7 separate regions of the Homo sapiens genome follow, and all the other regions are linked to region 2. Evidence: promoter capture Hi-C in 16 types of primary human blood cells and fetal thymus (Javierre and others, 2016). All regions are on one chromosome and are shown on one strand. The core of a region is centred on a gene start or on the middle of the fragment in contact, and the rest is flanking DNA. Distances in the headings are between cores, read along the strand shown.

The links. Contacts are between HindIII fragments. The CHiCAGO score rates a contact against its expected background, and 5 or more counts as called.
Region 1: a contact is called between a fragment that was not itself captured here and the fragment with the promoter of AUTS2 in region 2, in 1 of 17 cell types (fetal thymus). The highest score is 9.0, in fetal thymus.
Region 3: a fragment that was not itself captured here is called in contact with the fragment with the promoter of AUTS2 in region 2 in 1 of 17 cell types (fetal thymus); the score reaches 6.8 in fetal thymus.
Region 4: a fragment that was not itself captured here is called in contact with the fragment with the promoter of AUTS2 in region 2 in 1 of 17 cell types (fetal thymus); the score reaches 7.9 in fetal thymus.
Region 5: a contact is called between a fragment that was not itself captured here and the fragment with the promoter of AUTS2 in region 2, in 1 of 17 cell types (fetal thymus). The highest score is 6.1, in fetal thymus.
Region 6: a contact is called between a fragment that was not itself captured here and the fragment with the promoter of AUTS2 in region 2, in 1 of 17 cell types (fetal thymus). The highest score is 5.2, in fetal thymus.
Region 7: a fragment that was not itself captured here is called in contact with the fragment with the promoter of AUTS2 in region 2 in 1 of 17 cell types (fetal thymus); the score reaches 5.9 in fetal thymus.

What each region holds. Positions count from the first base shown.
Region 1 is chr7:70,010,371-70,013,070 of GRCh38, reverse strand. The region is part of intron 2 of AUTS2 (activator of transcription and developmental regulator AUTS2); the gene reads right to left. Among named protein-coding and RNA genes, the nearest start is that of AUTS2, 410 kb to the right of the region's middle. The HindIII fragment of the contact is 1,773 bases long and covers 373-2,145 here.
Region 2 is chr7:69,597,192-69,599,891 of GRCh38, reverse strand. It overlaps AUTS2 (activator of transcription and developmental regulator AUTS2), which reads right to left and starts at 1,417. Exons shown (of 19, transcript NM_015570.4): 1 at 1-1,417. The coding sequence starts at 238. CT66 (cancer/testis associated transcript 66) reads left to right here and starts at 2,268. Exons shown (of 3, transcript NR_148927.1): 1 at 2,268-2,700. RefSeq lists silencers at 104-173, 1,338-1,417, 1,438-1,857 and enhancers at 938-987, 2,168-2,247. The HindIII fragment of the contact is 6,527 bases long and covers 1-2,700 here.
Region 3 is chr7:69,881,433-69,884,358 of GRCh38, reverse strand. All of the region lies in intron 1 of AUTS2 (activator of transcription and developmental regulator AUTS2), which reads right to left. Among named protein-coding and RNA genes, the nearest start is that of AUTS2, 280 kb to the right of the region's middle. The HindIII fragment of the contact is 463 bases long and covers 1,173-1,635 here.
Region 4 is chr7:69,958,153-69,961,043 of GRCh38, reverse strand. All of the region lies in intron 2 of AUTS2 (activator of transcription and developmental regulator AUTS2), which reads right to left. Among named protein-coding and RNA genes, the nearest start is that of AUTS2, 360 kb to the right of the region's middle. The HindIII fragment of the contact is 179 bases long and covers 1,395-1,573 here.
Region 5 is chr7:69,979,898-69,982,774 of GRCh38, reverse strand. The region is part of intron 2 of AUTS2 (activator of transcription and developmental regulator AUTS2); the gene reads right to left. Among named protein-coding and RNA genes, the nearest start is that of AUTS2, 380 kb to the right of the region's middle. The HindIII fragment of the contact is 1,825 bases long and covers 369-2,193 here.
Region 6 is chr7:69,898,241-69,900,940 of GRCh38, reverse strand. It overlaps AUTS2 (activator of transcription and developmental regulator AUTS2), which reads right to left. Exons shown (of 19, transcript NM_015570.4): 2 at 1,443-1,655. Among named protein-coding and RNA genes, the nearest start is that of AUTS2, 300 kb to the right of the region's middle. The HindIII fragment of the contact is 231 bases long and covers 1,205-1,435 here.
Region 7 is chr7:69,938,354-69,941,214 of GRCh38, reverse strand. All of the region lies in intron 2 of AUTS2 (activator of transcription and developmental regulator AUTS2), which reads right to left. Among named protein-coding and RNA genes, the nearest start is that of AUTS2, 340 kb to the right of the region's middle. The HindIII fragment of the contact is 1,704 bases long and covers 556-2,259 here.

The DNA.
Region 1 (2,700 bases), core at 10-2,509, 410 kb before region 2:
AATTCTTCCAGCAAAGTGTGTTTTCATTGAAATGTGCTAGATCCTATAAAAGGTAACCATATGGAAATTTTCTCTATAAAATATTCTTTTCCTCCTCTTTCTCCATACCCCCAAAACACACATACATGCACACATATGCGGTCCTATTCATGAGCACTTATTTCTCTACAACCCAAACTCTAGAAAATCCTGTTACTACATTATCATTTATCTTTTTCACTGATAAGAGAAATAAATTATAAATACAACCCAGCTATCTGATCTGAAAAGCCATCATCACATACTGATCACATCATATAGTTTTCTTCAACTGAAGTGCCCGGGCAAGATGTTTTCTTAGTGTCAGCATAGTGTGCTTTGAAATATGAAGCTTCACCTGAGCCTTCTGACTGCAAAGACAAAGCCTCTTCTAACACCATTCAATGAATGAAATGAATTGAATATAATGAAAAGATCAAGGGAGAAATGGAAGAGGAAAAAATGGTAAGGAAAAAGAGATGAGGAAATAAGAAGCAGGAGATGAGGTGGAAAAGGAAAAGGCTGGAAGAAGTAAAGCAAGTGAGAGAATAACAAGAAGTGAAGACAAAAGAAACTAAAAAATTCCTGACTTTGGAACACTGAACACCATAAAGACCCATATTTTTACATGGTTTGTTTCACAAAATAGATGTCAAACTCATGTCTAGGTTTAACAATGAACTGACATATTTACCAAGGGGGCCTCTTACAGAGAGCTAAAAATATGAACCACAAAGGCAGACAAAAATTACCCTGGACGCCAGGGCCCAGGGGCAAGAGAGAACAATGTGGAGACCTGCCTCCTCCAGCCAATCCTGCTTGTCCACCCCTTTGAACTTATTCCTGTCCAAGGAGGTTAGCAAATGTGCCTACTCATTAACTATCTCTGCCTTCTCCACAGATCACAAATGCCCCAACTGGTAACTGTCAGAACCCAACACCATCAACGCTTTGCAGAAAGTAAGGGGTGAGTGAAGATGAAAATGGAGCAAGAAAGAGAACTTAGCATGATGACTGCACACCCTCAGTGAATGGCAGGCCTAAGGGGAGAAATTTAGGCCTGTCCCACCTCACAGTGAAAAAACTCAATGGTTCCTGAGACTCATACTCCCTCCTCTCCACTGTGTAGGAGGCTCCCAGGACACATGACAGTGAAAAGATTGAGGCAGTCAGAGGGAAACTTCGTCTAGCCCCAACACAGGCAGAGATGGTAGGAGCTCCACCTTCCACAGCAAGGGCTGAAAGGTCGCATGGCCACCCTGAAGCTCAGAATCCACAGATGATCAAGTGAAGGATGACAGAAGCAATCTGGATTATGCAAAGAATTGCTCTGAAATATGAAAGATGATTTTAAAAAAAGCTAAGAACTGCTTGTTCCGGCCACCAGTCCAAAAGACTCATGCTGCCCACCTTCCATTTATACATCCTCCAAGCAGTGAAGGTTTCCATGGGGCTCAGGACCCTCTTGGTAATTATTAAAGTAACTTAATTATACAATTGGTTAAGCCACCTATTCTGGGATAATTTGGCATGTAGTAATTCTGTCATCTATTCATGGGAAAACAGTTTCCAAGTTACAGCTAAGTAACTTACACACCATTTTTTTGTAACAAAAAGCCCTGATGAGCTAAATTGAGAAATAAGTAAATGAGGGTAGAAGTGGGAGAGTAGAAAAGGGAAAAATGAGGGAGAGGAGAGGAGAGGAGAGGAGAGGAGAGGAGAGGAGAGGAGAGGAGAGAGGAAAGGAGAGGAGAGGTGAGGCTAGTGAGAGTTTTGCCATCAAAAGATTTGTTTCCTAAAGCATGTCAGTGCTGGATGTCAATCCAGAGCTAGACAACTCGATTTTTTCATCAGCAAAAAAGACTGAGTGACCTTTTCCATCCTCAGTGGCTCCCCTCAGGCTTTATTTAGTCATGGTTGAAAATCAGGCCACAGGGAGAAATCTTGCCCTTTTCTTAATTTCAGATCAACACATAAGTAGCCTTAACTCCTATTTTAAAAGTGTATCTCCAATAAGTTACTAGTAATCTGGCCATCCTTTATGCCTGATGACCAAATCAAGTATGTGTCAAAAATTACTCAAGTAAGTCAAGCAAATCTCTTCCTTGGCTGCCCAACAATGAAGCTTTGACCCTGGGCACTGAGATCCCCTTACAAGCTTTTCCTTCCAATTTCTAATATCCAGAATCCACAGATGTCCAGGTGAAGTATGACAGAAGCAATCTGGTGAGCACTGTAGAATGGATAGATCCTGTTTGGTGATACTGGAGAATATCTAGTTTGGGTATAATTTCAGATCTTTAGATTGAAACAACCCAAAAACTTGTGTGATGCATAACAAACATATTATTATGATCCTACCTCATTCAGGATAGGCTACATAATGCTGTAGTATCAACTGCAAAATCTCCATGGCTAAAAATAACAAAGGCTTATTTCTTGTTCACACTCTTATGTCTCTATGGCTGTTGTGAGTCAGCAGGTGCTCGGCTCATCACAGTCACTCAGTCATCAAGGGGGATGGAGTGGCCACCATCTTGAACATTGCTAAACTTCATGTAGAGGAAAAGAGAATATGGTGAAGTATACACCTTTAAAAATGTCCTCAGCCAGGCGTAGTGCCTTATGCTGACAATCCCAGCACTTTGGGAGGCCGAAGCAGGAGGATTGCTTAAGACCAGG
Region 2 (2,700 bases), core at 168-2,667:
ACTCTCTCCGCTTCCTCCGCGGGGGTCTGGGCCGGGACGGGGCGGAGGACGGGGGCTTCCCATTGTCTTCCTTGTCGGAGCCCGACGACGAGGCGAGTGAGAGCGCCCGGGTCCGGCCAGCCCCGCCGCCGCCGGCCGCGCCGGCCCCCAGCCCGCCCCGGGAGCGCCTCTCCCGGTCTCGCTGCGACCGCGACCGCCGCTTTTTGCGGAGTCCATGGCCCCGCGTCGGGCCATCCATGGTTCTGCTGCGCCGGGGTCTCCCCGCTTGCCCGCCACAGGCTACGGCCGCAGCCACACAAAAAAAAATTGACACCGAGCCCTCCCTCCCCCTTCACGGCTTCCCTCCGCCCCGAGGAGGGCGCGGGGGAGACGGCGGCCGAAAGAAGGGAGAGAGGGGAAGAAAGAGAGGAGAAAGAAAAGGGGGAAGGGGCGGAGAGAGGGGAGGAGGGACGGGGAGCGAGGGCGAGAGGCGAGGAGCCCAAGTGTGGGGCTCCCCACAGCACCGAGGGTCGGAGATGCCTGGGAGCAGCGCCGAGCAAAGTAATGGCTGAACACACAGGTCTCCTTTAGAGGAAAAAAAAATAACTCACCAAGCAAGCAATAAATCAGAATAGCGGAATGCTTTGATCAAGAGACTGGGAGGCTCCGGGGAGCCCTCCCCGCGGCCATTCTCCGCCGCGCCCCCCGCCCCCCGAAAACGCCCGCGCCCCCCTCAACTCGATCCAAAATCGGGTCCGAAAAAGGTCGCGGGAAAAGTGGGGGCAATGAACTTCACCCGCCCCTCGCGCAGGAAAACACCCCCGCCGCCTCTCACACACGCCTCGGAGAAAACTCACTCCCAGGCTCCCAAATTTTTAAGAAATGCAGCCAGGGGAGGCCGGGGCTCCGGAGCGACCCAAGAGGGGCGAGACCCCCCAGAGAGGGGAGCATAATAATGCAATCATTAGCGGAAGAGAGGGCGAAACTGCGAGCGGCGGAGGAGAAGGGAGGCGGAGGAAGGGAAGGAGGATGCTGCTGGAGCAGTTGTGGGGTTTGCTTTTCGGTCTTCGAGGGGGGAGGAGAGGGAGATGAAAGAAGAGAAGAAGCAAACCCTGTCGCTGCCACCCGCCCCCCTCCTCACAAAAATATTTTTTCCAGTCCCAGAGAAGAGGTCACCCTTCCTCAAAAAAGGGAGGGGGTGAGTCAGTCAGTCGATGAGGAAAGCAGAAAGAAATCTCCAGCGGGAGAGACACCGGTGTGCCGCCGCCGCCGCCGCCGCTTCTCTCGCCGCCCCGCCTGAGGGAGAAGCGCAGCCGGGAACGCTGCTCTCGCCGCCGCCGCTAACGCTGCTGCTGCTGCCGCCGCCGCCGCCGAGAAAGCCCCGAGCCGGAGGGTGCACGGCGTGTCCCCGGGCGGCTGCAGCGGGAGCCCGGGCACTGCCCCATCCTCCGCCCGCCCGCCTGCCTCGCGCAGCTCCCGCTCCTCCCCCTCCGCGGCCAGCCCACCGCCGCCGCCGCCGCCGCCGCCCGCCTCAGCCCAACCCCGCGCCCGCCCGCTCGCTCGCTCGCTCGCTCGCTCGTTCGTGCTTTCGCTCGCTCGCTCGAGTGCGCGCGCTCCCGCGCACCCGCCCTCCCCGCGCCTCTCTCGGCGCGCGCTCCCGCCCCCGCGGCCCCGGCCGGCGGGATCACGTGGACGGCTGGGCTCCCTCCTCCCCCGCCCCCTCCCCAGTTGTAGAGTGTGTAGAAAGCAAAAGGCTGGGGGCTGGCCGCGCTCGCGAGCCCAGGGCATGCGCGCTGGGGCGGCCGGGCCTGCGCACTGGGGGCGGTGGGGAGCTGTGAGGGGGGCGGGGGCGGGGGCGTGGAGGGGGCGCCCGCGTGGGGTCGGCCGCGGCCGGGCAGAGTTGGCGCGCCAGGGCGTGGAAGCCGCCGGAGGATCCCGCCTGTCGCAGCGGGGACGCGTGTGGGCCCCTGCTCCCAGGCCACTTCGCGCGCGCGCCCCCCACATCCTCCTCGGGACACTTGTCCCTGGATCCTCTACCCCTGGCCGGCCCGAGGCCGCCTTCTCGGGAAGCCCCACCAGCCCCCAAGGGTGTTTTCCCTTGGCTACCTGCGCTGCGAGGAGAGAAGGGAATTCAGAGAAGGGGTACAAGGGGGGCGTCCCTGGGAGGGGGCGCGACTGGAGGAGACAGAACGGGGAGCGGGTGCCAAAGCGCGGGCCTTTGCTCCGCCTGGGCGCAGTGGGAGCACCAACTGGCAGAGTTGGAAACTTTTCCTCCACGTGGCACCACAGTGCGTGGACGAGCGACCCCGCGCCCGGATGACCCCTGGGATTCCCGCCTCGTCTTCCAGCGGGGGACCTAGGGACGCACGGGCGGCTTCAGATCCGGGAGCGCGAGGCCTAACAGCCGGGGGCCGAACTTGAACCTCGGAGGCGGCCGCGGGCGAGGGGCGGGGCCGAAGGGGCCGGGACCGCCGCCCCAGCTCGAGGACCCGTTAGACCGGCAAACCGCAGTCCCTGCCCCGCGGGCTTCCTTTACTTTTTGGGAGTGGGGGGCGGTTTCCCTGCTTTTTCCACCACAGCCCCTCCTCCCGCCGCAATGTGGCTGATGCTCATAAAAAGTTGTATTAAAGAGCTGACTGCAGCCGAGAATCGATCAACAAAAGCGACCAGCCTCTCTGGGTAAAATAGCTGTGCGTTTTTCAGGGCACTGGAATTGATCTA
Region 3 (2,926 bases), core at 155-2,654, 280 kb before region 2:
CTGATTTGAGAAAATGACTGCTATATAAAAACATAAGGCACATAGATTTGCTGAAAGCAGTAAGAATGCTTTCTGCAAATGTCCTCTCATTTTTTAAGAAGCTGCATTTTAGTTTATCTGTAAGAGCTGTCCACAATGAGCTCAGCAGAGTTTTGAGTTACTAAGTACATAACTCATTCTGTCCATGTCTAAAGCATGCCTATACATCCTCACAGGTATCTACCTTAGAAACTGTGCCCACAGATGACACACTTTAAACAATTTCCTTCCATGCTCTCACAAAGAAGCATGTGTTATGACATTGGCTGTTGGTCCCATAAGGAAGTGGGCTGGAGGATGTCATCTGGATGTAGGGAAATCAACCATTCCCCATCCCAGAAGGATTTATTGATGTCACCACAGGCTCAGCAAATTATATTCATGAAAGTGAAATCCCCATCACAGCCTATGAAAACCACTCACTAAACAAACTGGCAAACGCGTATATATTTGTAATCGGTAGAGGAGTCAATACACATGGCGGCTGTTAAAACTGGCATCAGTACCACAGTGAGAGAGAACAGCTCTGCAGGACCTGAAATGATAAAGGCCAGGCCTGCTGTGTGAGGTTGGGAGGGTGTGTGCATGAGCAGATGGGTTAGTCGGGAAATCAGTTTGGGAGCAAAAATTGAGCCTGTGGTTTAAACTGGGCCTTGGATGGCAGCATGTTTGAGGGAGACTTTCCTTTTTCCCATGTCCAGTTTCTATCTTGTTGCCAGCACACTTCATCCCAAAGATGGCATCGGCCCTGCTCTGATGACCAGCAGATTCTGGTGATTTCAACATTAATCCAAAATGACAGCTGTTTTGTCAAGAGAGAGAAGAGCTGGGTTGGAAACAAGATGCTGACGCTGGTACTACCCTGCAGTTTTATCATTCCCTCATCAGCATACTGATTTACACAGAGCAATCAGTTTTCTTCTCAGCAGTTATCTAACCTTACAGCACCAATGAGTACTATGGATAGTCTCAAATATTTCTCAGTTCTTTGGGAATAAGAATATCTTCCTGCCTGCTAAAGAAAAAAAAAAAAAAAAGGAACTCTATGCTCCACCCCGAAGCTGAGGCTGCTTTGAAGTGCACAAAGCTGGCTCCTTAATCAGTTGCTTAGATTACTTCCCACCATAGAAGCTTCATTCCAGGAAAATAGACCACTTCACTGCTATCCCTACTCTTTATTGGTGGCGGTTACATCTGAGTCCGAGAACTGGCTTTCCCACCTTCTGGCTTTACGAACATGAACAAATGCCTTGGCCCTTATGAGCCTCCATTTCTTCTCCTGGAATACAGGAATAGAAAGTTTAATGAAATTTGTGGAAAGTGCTTGGGATACTTCCTGGTACAGGCAGTAAATAAATTACAAATAAATGTGAGGAATTCCTCTTCCTGACTGATACAATTAATGACTGGTAAGTCATTAAAAAGGGAAACTGTCATTCTAAAAGGTTACATTTGGCATTGGAGGAACAATGGTGGGATCTATTCTCCATATATCCTCAAGATTGTGTTTAATGAGTGTCATTGAATGTGCCAAGCAACATACTGGATATTTTATTTATAATACCTCATTTAATTACTACAATACCCTGTGAAGCTTCAGTTTTCTCATATATAAAATGGAGCGAATAATATCACCTAACTTATGAAGCAGCTATTAGGATTAAATTAGTTAATGTAATGCCTAGGATGTATTAGGAGTTCAGTCCAAATTAATTATTTTTATTACTATTAATTAATATTCCCAAGGTCACATAGCTATGAAAAGACAATACCAGGACTCAACACAGACCTGCGTGGCTCTAGCATTCATGTTCTCATTCATGTGAACAGAACTGAAAGCAGAAGCCTAGAATGTGGTCTGAGCATGACCCAGGACTTATAGTGTTGCCTTGGGGTTGCAGGTTAACATACTTCTCTATTCCATTTTTGTTTTTATTTTTAAGATGGCTGTATTACTTGGCCTATTTTTTCTTTTCACTTTTTAAAAAAATTATTTACTTATTTATTACATTGAGATGGGGTCTCATTATGTTGCCCAGGCTGGTCTCAAACTCCTGAGCAAGCAATCAATTCTTTCACCTCAGCCTCCCAAAGTGCTGGGATTACAGGCATGAGCCAGCACGCCCAGCCTATCACTTGGTCTTTTTTTTTTTTTTTTTTTTTTTTTTTGAGACAGAGTTTCGCTCTTGTTGCCCAGGCTGGAGTGCAGTGGCCTGATTTCAGCTCACTACAACTTCCGTCTCCCAGTTTCAAGCGATTCTCCTGCCTCAGCCTCCTGAGTAGCTGGGGTTACAGGCGTGCACCACCACTCCCAGCTAATTTTGTATTTTTAGTAGAGATGAGGTTTCACCATGTTGGCAGGCTGGTCTCAAATTCCTGACCTCATGTGATCCACCCACCTCGGCCTCCCAAAGTGTTGGGATTACAGGTGTGAGCCACCACGCCTGGTCCACTTGGTCTATTTAACCTGAGAAATAATGCGAAGAAAGTACAATTTGCTCCTTGAAATACTAGCACCATATAAAGTTCCAGCATTTCTTCCTAAATCTGCCTTCTGTAATTTATGAGACATGCAAATAAGAGAAAGTTCTGAGACAGGGCTGTGGGGGGAGGCATTTCCTATCACCATATGGAAAGATGGAAACTTTAGGAAAGTTTGGCATGGGAAGAGAGCAATACTTTGTACTCCTGATAGATCCAAAATTAAAAGGACCATCATGTTAACTGCTACCAGAGAGAGGCAAAAAGAAGTCCTGAAAAAGCATTTACCACTGATTCTATCATTAATCTCTTTTCAACTGCTTTAACTTGCTGGCTTTCCAAATGAGACATCTGTCCATTTCCAAAAAGAAAATAAATGCATACAAAAATAGTTACTAGGTGCAGC
Region 4 (2,891 bases), core at 235-2,734, 360 kb before region 2:
GAATGATACACATACATACACGCCCAACACACACATAGAATAATCTGAGACTGAAATCCTAGGCAGTCTCGTTGAGAAGACTAATGATACACACAAGAAATGACTTATGACCTCCTCTTATAAAACAACAAATCCCAAAAGTGCAAATCAATATACCACACACAGAAGTTGATGAGCACCTAGAAAGCAGTAAGAGGGATTAAAAGTGGACAAGAACAACTTCTGATGAAAAGGAAGCTTTGGAGAAAATACAGAAGCTGATTAGGTCCACGGAAAGGGACACGACATTCCAGGTAGACATAAAACACCTAGAAAAGCAAAAGATAAGATAACGGAAATGGTGATCTTTCCTGTCAATATATATTTCACTGATTAACTCTGCATGTTCATCTCTCCAACAAATGTTTTTGGAAAACGACTGATTCTGAAGTTCGATATTGTGTCTTTTCATAAAAATGTGCATGTAAATACTTACTTCTATATAACAAATCATATACCTACTCCCTTTATACACAGAATTACACAGATAAATGGCAGCCAAGTTATTTTAACTGGTTGTGCAGCATGAATTCAGAATGATTTTAATTACAGTTTCTCTTTTAAAATGAGGTTTTGTTCTTTAATATTCATTGACTACTAGCTTGCTTCCCACACACAACACATTATTTACTCTACAGTGGTTTGGTGCATCAATTATGGTAATAGTTTGTGAATAACATTCACATTATGGAAAAATGAGCCTGGTTACTTAGCTCTCCCTCTGGAAAATTGTCACAAACATATGTATCATCTGTCTCTACTTAGAGCGCAGCAATTAGTAATTATAGCTGTATATACTTTTTTAAGGCAAAGAGGGAAAATAGACCTGAAATGTCATGTTTCCAAATGTTCTTAGGATGTTATCTAAAATTATTTTGTTTGAACTCTAGTTGAAAAGAGAAAATGCAGTCTGACAAAATGAAAAATCACTAAAAGCATGCTGGATACGCAGAAATAGACAAAGCATCCCACAAATGACATCACCTACTAAACAATTCCTTCTTCATCCAGACAGATTAAAAAAAAATAGGCCTAGAGCTGTGGCAGACCTGACTATAGCAGCCATACTGTGAAGCAAGACAGACTCGGACTCAGACCCTGGCCATATATTCTCTAGCTCAGTTAAACCATTATTTATGGAGTGCCTTCTATACACCAGGTGCAGTACAGAGTTCTATAGAAACAATTAGTAAGACAAAACAATTTTTCCAAAGGTTATTATGTACTAGGGAACTAGAAGCATAATCAATACAATTTAGTATGAAGTGTGCAGATTTTAAAAGAGGTTTAAGAGAGAGAAATAGTTCAGAAAGGTATTTCTGTTGGAAAAGAAAAAGGATAAGAGACGTAAAGCTTTTCCAAGAAACAGACTCCTGAGATGCAGTGACAGTATGATGTGGAAGGTCATGATCCGAGAAAGTGAAATCCTGGGCGAATCCTAGGTGATAACAAAGTCCGAGATCCAAAATGAGAATGGATACTTAGCAGGTGAAGGTGAGGGATACTGGAGAGGAGGTCAAAGACCTAGGAAGCTTGGTTTTTGATATACATAGATATTGAAATTGTCCAGATCACATATTACTTAGCTTCTCTGACTCCAAATTTGTAATTACTGCTCATTTGTAAAATGAGAAAAATAAAACTTCCCCAAGGATTTTTGAGAGAACTGAATGAGAGTATTCTGTAAGTAACTTGAATAGTTTCTGGCACCAGCAGGCTCCCAAAAGCTCTTTAAATATTAGCACTTTATTGTAACCAAGAAAATATTTAGAAAAAACACAACAGGAACAATACGAGAGTTTTGAAAAACAGGAAGGTAAAGAATAGCAGTTATATTAGGAAGGACAGGGTAGAGACCATGAAAAATCAACTGCCATAATAGGTGCTGTTCTTCCACACTGCCTTAAAAGACTGATCACTTGAGGGTCCAGAATTTCCAGAGGTAACGGGCAAAATTTGAGACAACTGATTACTAATAGGAGACCAGAAAGTATTTCCTTTTGCATAGGTGAAATGTGAGAATTTACAATCTAGTCCAGAATAGCTCTGGTGTACATATCACAGAAGCATCTAAAATTTGGTTCTCTCCAAATGTCATTCCTCAAGGAATACTCTGGCTTTCCCCTTTCCAATGCCAAAAAGAGGCAGGCAACCACAAAAACAATCCAGTCATACTGCCTACCTGCATTACCTGAGGACTTGTTAAAAATGTACATTCTCAGGCCTTCCTCAGGCCTACCGACTCAGACACCTTGGAGGTGGAGCCTAGCAGTCGGTTAAACCAGCCTTTTAGGTGATTTTGGTGCAGAAAAACGTCTGAGAATCACTAATCCAGTGCCATCTTGTAGTTGCAGAGTGACTATCTGAAACAGGCCCAGAGAGAAGGCCACACAGTGTCAGTCTCTGGACTCCTAGCCCTTTGTCTCCTCCTTACACTACATGGTTTGTGTAGAGACCTAAGAAGTAAATGTGCCCAGCTGTGTTGCTTTTAGCTCTGCCCCTGCTCTACTGCACCTCCACTTGGCCCTGATGGAAGTATTTTCTTGCAAGTAGGGAACATGAGATAGAAGCCAAACAGTCCATGGCTAAGTTATCATGCAGTGGCACCAGAAGCAAGTCCTGATTTATATTCTAGAGTAGAGGTTCACGCCTGTTTTCAGTAAAGGGCCAGAAAGTAAATACTTTAGGTTTTGCAGGCCATACAGTCTCTGTCATAATTATTCAACTATGCCATTATAGCTAAGAAGCAGCCACAGAAGATACATAAACCAAGGGGTACAGGTATGTTCCAATAAAACCCGATTTACAAAAAAAGATACCAGGTCGGGATTGGCCGGTGGGCTATAGTTTGC
Region 5 (2,877 bases), core at 32-2,531, 380 kb before region 2:
TGAAGGCTTTCACCTCTGCCAAGAGTAACACACCTGAGTTCTCCACCAATTAAGCAAATGGCCAGGCCGCTGTTTTATCACATGTAGGACCAATGCTTTGTCACTGGCATCTTGTTTGGGTCATTCAATGGAAAAAGTGGCCGTATAAACGCAAACGCACTCATGTAGTTTTCTTCATTTCACCCATGGGTGATGACTCCCACTAGCAGGCATGCCTTGCATTTGCCTTTATTTTTCTCTAAGACTCACACATACATAACATGCATACTCCAGAGGTCCAAGGAAAATACTCCACGTTTTTTTTCCCCCCTCAGGATAGCCTGGAGCAGGAGGGGTGAAGAAAAGAAAGAGAAACAGCACACAAAGCTTTCCTTGTTCTTTTAATCTTTCTTAGACAAATTCTACACCAGAGAAAGCCACAGCTGAGGATTTTACAGTGGTGTTAAACACTGCTTCAGTCCCCTGAGAGAGAAGGAATGCATTCCCTTTAGTATTCACTGTGCTGAGCTACTCAGCTTTCTGAAAGAGAATATAGCAGAGCAGTCAAGAAGAAAAGGCACAGACCATGATACTTGCACTCAGCAGCTTATAAACCCGTTTATTTCCTCTCTAGGAAAAAAAGCAAACAAAAATGTTTTCAGGACCATTTCTCAAAAGGTTCCTATTTGTTGACTGATTTAATACATTTAATTCAGACAGTATATTCCTAAAATTGCTTTCTGTGTTGGTGCCTACGAGTCCTTGTCCTTAAGAAACTCACACTGATATAAACAAGATTAATAAGACAGTAGGTAAAGTTCAGCAAAAACAGACAAAAACTCATGATTAGCTACCCTTGTGAAACTAAGAGAAGATAAGCACAAATGCAACCGTCACAAACAACTGGGAATAAATTACCAACTCGAAGTGTGTACATATCAAGTGGTAGAACGAGTATATGTATTTTGATGGGTCTGACTCATCTTCACTCTTTAGTGACCTACTAATGCTCTGATGTCTGTTAGCATATCTCAAGAGGAAATAATGTTTGTTAATATCTAAATTTCAGTCTTAAGATTTTTCTACAATTTATTTACAAATCTAATGTGGTGTGTATTTCAAGACATGTGATAATCAAAGACCAGAATGAACTCAAGACTCTTAAGCGCTGATAGTGTGTACTGAAAGCCCATAATGAACTCATCTGGATGGTTATAATGGGATATAAAAATTGTTGGCAAGAAACTGTCTTCACTCTAGAGATAACAGTGATCATATTGATTATATCTATGTATATTAGGTATTAACATTAGAAATTAATTAATTTGAAATATTGAATAAAAATTTAAATACAAAATAAAAAAATACAGTTACATATTCACTTATAAAATAAAAATGACATACATCCTACCTTCTCATGGGTGAATGTTAACTGATCTAAAATCAGGCAAACCACAAATCTTTTACAATAATGCTCTTTTAACTGACCCCAACTGACCAGCTAGATCAACTGATGATCTTCGTTTCCTTTGTAAAACTTACTGAACATTTCATAGCCAATGAATACTCATCTCTATAAGACACCCGTGTACCACAGTGGACCATACCCAAACCTGTTTCTGCTAATTTTATTTACCACATGTAAACCAGTGATAAGTACAAAATGAAGGTGAGATTTTGTTTCTAGAGAAATTAAGCTGGACAAGATAAACATTTAATAAATGTGGGCCTCTCAAAAAACAATTGTTGAATTAAATACAAACTGACTATAGAAAGACTGGGAAAGGGAAGTTAAAATGATTCTGCATTCCAATTATTCATGTATGTGTAAGTTGTTATACCATTTTTAATAAGCCTCATAGACAACTGTGGTCAATGAATTACAGATGTGATTTATGCAAGAAAGAACAATTGGAACACAAATCAATATACCATTCTAAAACGAGCCCTCACTGCACATTGTAAACTCCTGGGGATCTTTTTAAAAAAATTGACGCCAAGGCTTCATCCCAGATCAACTGAATCAGAATCTCCAGAGTTGATACTTGGACATCAATTTTTTTTTTAATTCCCAAGGTAGTTCCAATGTATAGCCAAAGATGCAAACCGCTGCTCTACATGAAAGGACTGGTGAGAGGATGAGGATGTGTAATCATATGACTTCTAATACATACAATGTAAGCGTACACTTTTTTTTTTTAACAGTTTCAAGCTTTAACTGTTTCCAGTTCATAAATGTAGTATGGAAAAGATAATGCCAACATAAGCAGTATTCTACCAAATAACAAGTATGTACATAACCAGATCTACCTTGGCCTAAGAAGTACAGTGAATGCAATTTGAATGCCTTTCTCCACACAACTATCCTACAAATGAGGTTCCAAAAATCAATTATATAACTCCAAGGAAGTTTCTCTGCACTCCCTCTGCAAAACTGAACTAGATGTCCAACTCTTTCTGTACTGTCTTGAGATCCTCCCACTTACTCTTTAAGTGCACACAAACAAATTCTAGAGAGAAAAATAAGTTTTAAAAGGTTGATGTAATTAGCTGGGCATGGTGGCAGGTGCCTGTAATCCCAGCTGCTCAGGAGGCTGAGGCTGGAGGATCACTGGAACCCAGTGGCATCACTGCATTCCAGCCTGGGCGACAGAGTGAGAGACTCCATCTCAAAAAACAAACAAACAAAAACACAAAACAAAAAATGGTAGATGAGGGGGTGAAGTGGGGAAAAGTCTGGTGGTACCATGTGGAGAAGAGAAGGGATAGAAGCTTAGCTTAATGTGTGCACAACAAAAACTTCCAGTTTATAAAGCCTAATTCATTAATTCCTTCTCTTACTTACTCACACAAAAACATACAGTAAATAACTACTATATACTTACAGCTATTCTAAGC
Region 6 (2,700 bases), core at 71-2,570, 300 kb before region 2:
TTGTACAAATTATAGGTTATACTATAAAAACTCCCTCACTGAATGTAGCATAGTATGCATTAGGTAAATGTTAATAATTACTATTATAACTCCAGTCTGGCGTTTCAGGACACAAGTGTACCTTTGGAAACACTGTGCTGGTTGTCAGATTTAGGCATTACCTTGGAAGCCTTCTGGGTCCATCTGAAACCCATCACCCCAGATGTTTTACCAGGATTATATGCTTCACTACGTATAAGGCAGAATTCTGACACCAAACTGCCCACTACATCATATTGAGGCTTTTGATCTTTCCAATCTTTTAACTAAAAACCATCACCCAAATACACTCTTGATTCTTTGTAAGAGTGACTTCCAACCAGGCTGACTGTTTTCAAATAGGAAACTTTCTAAAACTACAAATGTCATTAGGTCCTAAAGAGGGGCCAGAAATTTAGGTTTAGTAGCTCTCATTATATGATTCTCAAGATCTGTGTGGTTTGGGAACCATTGTTTTGTTTGATCCCAGATCTCCCTGCCTCTGCAGAGAAACATCTGCAAACCAAAAATTACCTATTCCACCTCTAATTAGCAGCACCTGCTCTGTACACCACAATTCCTTCCTCTGCTTTCTTCAGTGATAGTCAATCCTACCCAATGGTCCTGCCAAAAATAAATAAAACACACCCAGGACACAGGTAACTAACTTGACAGGCACTGAAGCCTCTGGATTTGTGCAGAAAAACTGCTATAAACAGCTTCATATCTCATTATTAATCCATCTCATGTGGGGATTTCCACAGGCAGAAAGGCTTCCCAAATGCCAAGAGCCATACTTTCTTGTGGATCATTGAAACCTAATTATTAACAGGCCAGTAAGCCTCATTATCAGACGTTCATACAATCAACAGATCACAAAGATAGTCTTGAATTATAGCCTATGGAGAACAACTAAGACACCAAAAGGCAAATTCATTTTTTGCCATTGCCCTCCCAGATGCCACAATATCTGAGCTTCCCCGGAAAATATAAATCTTAGCAAGGCATTTCTCACACACAGGCAATCATTTTAGCACCTTAGAACCATGAGATGCACAATGTATGTGATGAAATCCACCTGTTCCATTTATCCTAATTGCAAAGATCTCTCCCCTGCAAGCCAGTCCATCTTGACAACTGTTAAGACAGGTCTGCCCTAAATACCAGTACCACTTAGCATCAAGCTTTGTTGCATAAAGCACATCTGACTGAAAGGGCACCATGCTGAAGTTTCAAATCCTCATAGAAAGAGCTGAGATTGGGTTTTAGATTCTTTTAAAGGCACGCACACAGCTTTGTTGGACAACCACTTCAGCATCCCACCAAGGATATCTTCTCCACCTGTTACGAAAAACCACAGTGGAGGAAGCACCTAAGGAAGGGATTTTGCCGCCACAGGAAAGAGCGAACCCAAGCTTCCTCACCTGTCTGAGTGCCTTCGGCATTTTCTTTCTCTTCCCAAGGTGCTGGCAGAGATTGCGGTCATTTTCTCGATCTGAGCTGTAGTGGTGTGGGTGGCTGAGTCTGCTCTTCTTTGAATGAAAGGACAAGCCATTGGTAAGTGCTTCTCGTTTCTTCTTGGTCAGGGGCGTCTGGCGTTTCTCCACACGTTCCTGAGGCTTAAGTGCTACATCTTTCTGTAGAAAAGAAGAGAAGGAAAGGGAAGTGGTGGTTACAAAGGTATCTAGGGTCACACCCAAAATATAGGCTAAATACTAAAGGGTGTTACTACTAAGTGGGAGAGGGATAGGAAAGTGGGATATGAGAAGACCCAAAACTAAGAAACATGGCTTCTCAATTTTCCTGAATCCTTAATGCCATCACAAATATATATATCCTTTCTATTATTACTGGGCAGAAAACTAAACAAAACACAAGTATATGCATCAAAAGTGATTTCACTGCTCCCTGGGATAGCAGCTTTCTGTTCGATTTGGTGCTGGGTCCAGCACACAATGACCTTCCCCAAGGAAGTGCAATACACTCATTTCCCAAGTTGGTACATCAATTATGTTTCAGAAAATGAGCACTAAGTGCATGCTCAATTCAAAAGAAATAGCACCCAACTGAATTTATCAGGTCCAGGTGGATGTGAGCCAGCAAGAAAGAACTGTCTATTCATATGATTAAAATGTTTCCTTAATGCATTATATTTTTTTACATGTTCCTCTAAGCATCCTTTATTTCCATTTTCTTTGCAAAATGTAACAACAATATTATCACCAAGATCAACAGCAACTTTTAATTTATTCCTGTGTGTGGTTGGGGATGAGGGGAGGTGGGTAGGAAATGGGAAATCAATGTCCTTGAATGGGGAACTGCATCTGTAGAAACTACAGGTAAGCATTTCAGGCCACATGACCTGATAAGAGTTCTGTGCCTCCAGGCAGCTCAGTACACACCAAGGTTCCAACAGACTGGGCTTTTAGTGTCCGGACACTGACATTATTCATTATCAGAAGTGGAGTAAGTCACTACAACTCTGAGACCACGTGCAAAATGGGCTCTCAGAACATCAAACAAACCACATACATGCAAATATCCTCTGCCCTGTGAGAAATGATGCACACACTAAGCAATAAAATGAAAATGTTTTGGCACTCAGTTATTTGGAAACTAGTGGATCTAATCCTCTTACACAGAAAATCCCCCTCATGAAGCCTTACCACACTTCCTCAGTTT
Region 7 (2,861 bases), core at 158-2,657, 340 kb before region 2:
AACTCAGTGTTGGTAGCTGAACTGTAGTGCTGGGGCTTATCAATGGTACCACATCGAGAGGGTCGACCTCAATTATGAAATTACCTTAACTTGGGAGGGTATAACCCTCTACAACAAATGTGTGTGCGTGTGTACATGCTTGCGTGCATGTGTATTCTCTCAGCAGGAATTATTCTCTAACTGGGCAAAGCCATCCATATTTGGATGACACAAGCCATCCATGTTCTCTTGCAGGATCCTTCTTTTGAGCAAATAAGCTCCACTGCAGATAATTTGTTCATGTTCCAGTCTGGTTACATTGTAACCTTCTTCTGACTGTTAACATAGGCATTGTTACTGGTTCCTCCCTCACCCTCATCTCCCACATCCAGAACTCCTATTATCTGCATCCTAATAAGCTCCTAAGCTTCTATCCATCCTTACCTCTACTACCTTGGTCCAGGCTGCCATCCTCCTTCACCTGGATTACAGCATCAGCTGCCTGACTGCACTCTTGTCCTCTACTGTCTCCCTCTATGACTTAGACACATCACTAGTGAGAAACACGTTAAAGCTTACATCTCATCATGTTATACCCATGGTTCTACCCCTTGAATGCTCCGTTTGTCCTTAGCCCTTTATATTTCCATGACCCACATCCTGGAAGTGGGACCTACGGAGGACTTCATGATTTGGCCCCTGTGGCATCACTCCATGACACACACTCTCTCACTTTCTCTACCCCTAATGGGCTTCTCTCTGTTGTTCCTCCAAATCACCTATTTTATTCTGTCCAGCCTGTGGCCACTACACATGTTGGAATAGTTTTGTCCATGAGCCCTCACCTAGAGAGCACCTACTCATCCTTCATGTTTCATCCCAAAAGACATTTTCTCAGGAAAGCCTTCCCAGCCTTCCTCTTCCCTAGGTTAATTCGCCCTGTTGCAGACTCCTACAGAACTCACCATACTTCAGAGGATTTGTCAACTCTCTGCCCTTCTCACCATGAGGGGTCCAGCCAGAAGTTAGGAACGCAGGCTCTGAGAACTGCCTGCCCAGGTTCAAATCCTGACTCTGCTATTTGTAAGTTGTGAAACCTTGTGGGAGTTAGTCTCTTTGTGCCTGGGTTGTGTTACCTATAAAATAGAAATGATAATAATAGCATCTACCTTATAAGTTTGTTCTAAGAATTAAAATGGATGAAAAGAGTTTAGAATAGAGCCTTGCATACAGTAAGCACTGAAAGAATGCTTCCTGGTGGTATGATTACTACTGTTGTTGTTATGATGAGTGGAATATCTGCCTTGTTCACCATTATACATGCAATGTCAAATACACAGATACTGTGTGATCCCAATTCCACTTCAGCATCTCACTCAGTATGGTTATAATGAAGCAAAGAGATATTTCTCTCTATGAAGCTGTAAAAAATGCCAATCATCAATTGACATTTACTAAGTTCCCATGCTCTGCTCTACATAGATAAGGAGGATGCACCCAGAGAAGACACAGTACCTTATGCCTAAGTAGGAACCACGATTATACAAGTTTCTCTTCTCTCTCCATTGAGTGAAAGGGTTAACAAGAGTGTAATTTTAAATTATATAAACCTCATCAAATATTCATCAACTCAGAGGTGTTCCTTAATCCTCCCTTAGCTTCAGCATAAAAGACTGTGGATCAAAGAGCTCACTTCACACAGATAGTGTTTCATGAAAGCAAAAGGTATCAAGTTTATCCCCTGGCAGGATGTAAGTGGGCTGAAGCTACCCCAGCTCCTGCAGCAAGACTGGGGAGACTCAGGCAAAAATGTGAGGTTGTGTGGGGCACAGAGAACCTAAGTAGAAAGAATTTCTGAACTTCTGATGTTACATTTTGGAAATAAGAATAGTTTAAGCCTAAAGAGAGTGTGACATTTAAGGGGGCTCCTTTAAAATATTTCTATAAGGCAAAGATTCCTATCCTTAGAAATGAATAGGAGAAAAAAATGATTGAATTTTACTTCTTGAATGGTGCACCAAATTCATTGTTCACATGTTGAGCCCTCTACAAATTAAGCCTAGAAAACTGGGAGGTGTCACCAGCATTTATAGGTAAGAAAGTTGATACACATGTTAAAGATAACATGATGTGATAGGGATACAAGAGTATTTAAGTTTCACTTGCTGTGCAAATATGGTCTAAGATATCATTATGAAATCTAAATCTTTACAAATTGATTTACTTAAATCAAATATATCTATAGCAGTTAAAAACATGATCAGCAGTTCCCATAAAGCTTGAGCTGCTCAGTCAGCAGGCCCTATCATTTTTCTCCAATACATCTTCCCAAGTCACCATTCCTTATCTTCACCATTGTAAGCACAGCTGGCTTATCGTAGCAGTCCCTTCCAATCACCTCACACATTTCTGTCTTACTCACCTACTCAACCACCTATAATTGATCTTGTTTCTTAGCCTACGTTCTTTTCTGCAGCTTCCAGGCTCTATGTACTTTGGTTCCACCTTGTCTATCTAAGACACTTAGCCACTTCTCCACCTACATACTCCATCCCCTCTCTGCTCATTGCACTTCCCTAGGTTAGGGTGTACTGCTTATCTCCCTGTAACACCGACCCTCTATGTACCAGAGGTTATCCAGTTATTTCTATAGTTTCATTCATGTTTAGTTTTGGGTTCAGGGCAAGGTCATGTCTTGAGATTTATTTATAATCTCACAATGGTGGATACAATCATGCATCAAATGTAAAACTCACCAAACCACATTCTTCTGTAGACATACAAAAGGATTATTGTATTTTAAAAATCATACTTTCCTCCTGCAACAGCAAAAACTAAAATAAGTAGAGATCCATATAGCCCGCAAGAGTCAAGGAAGTTTC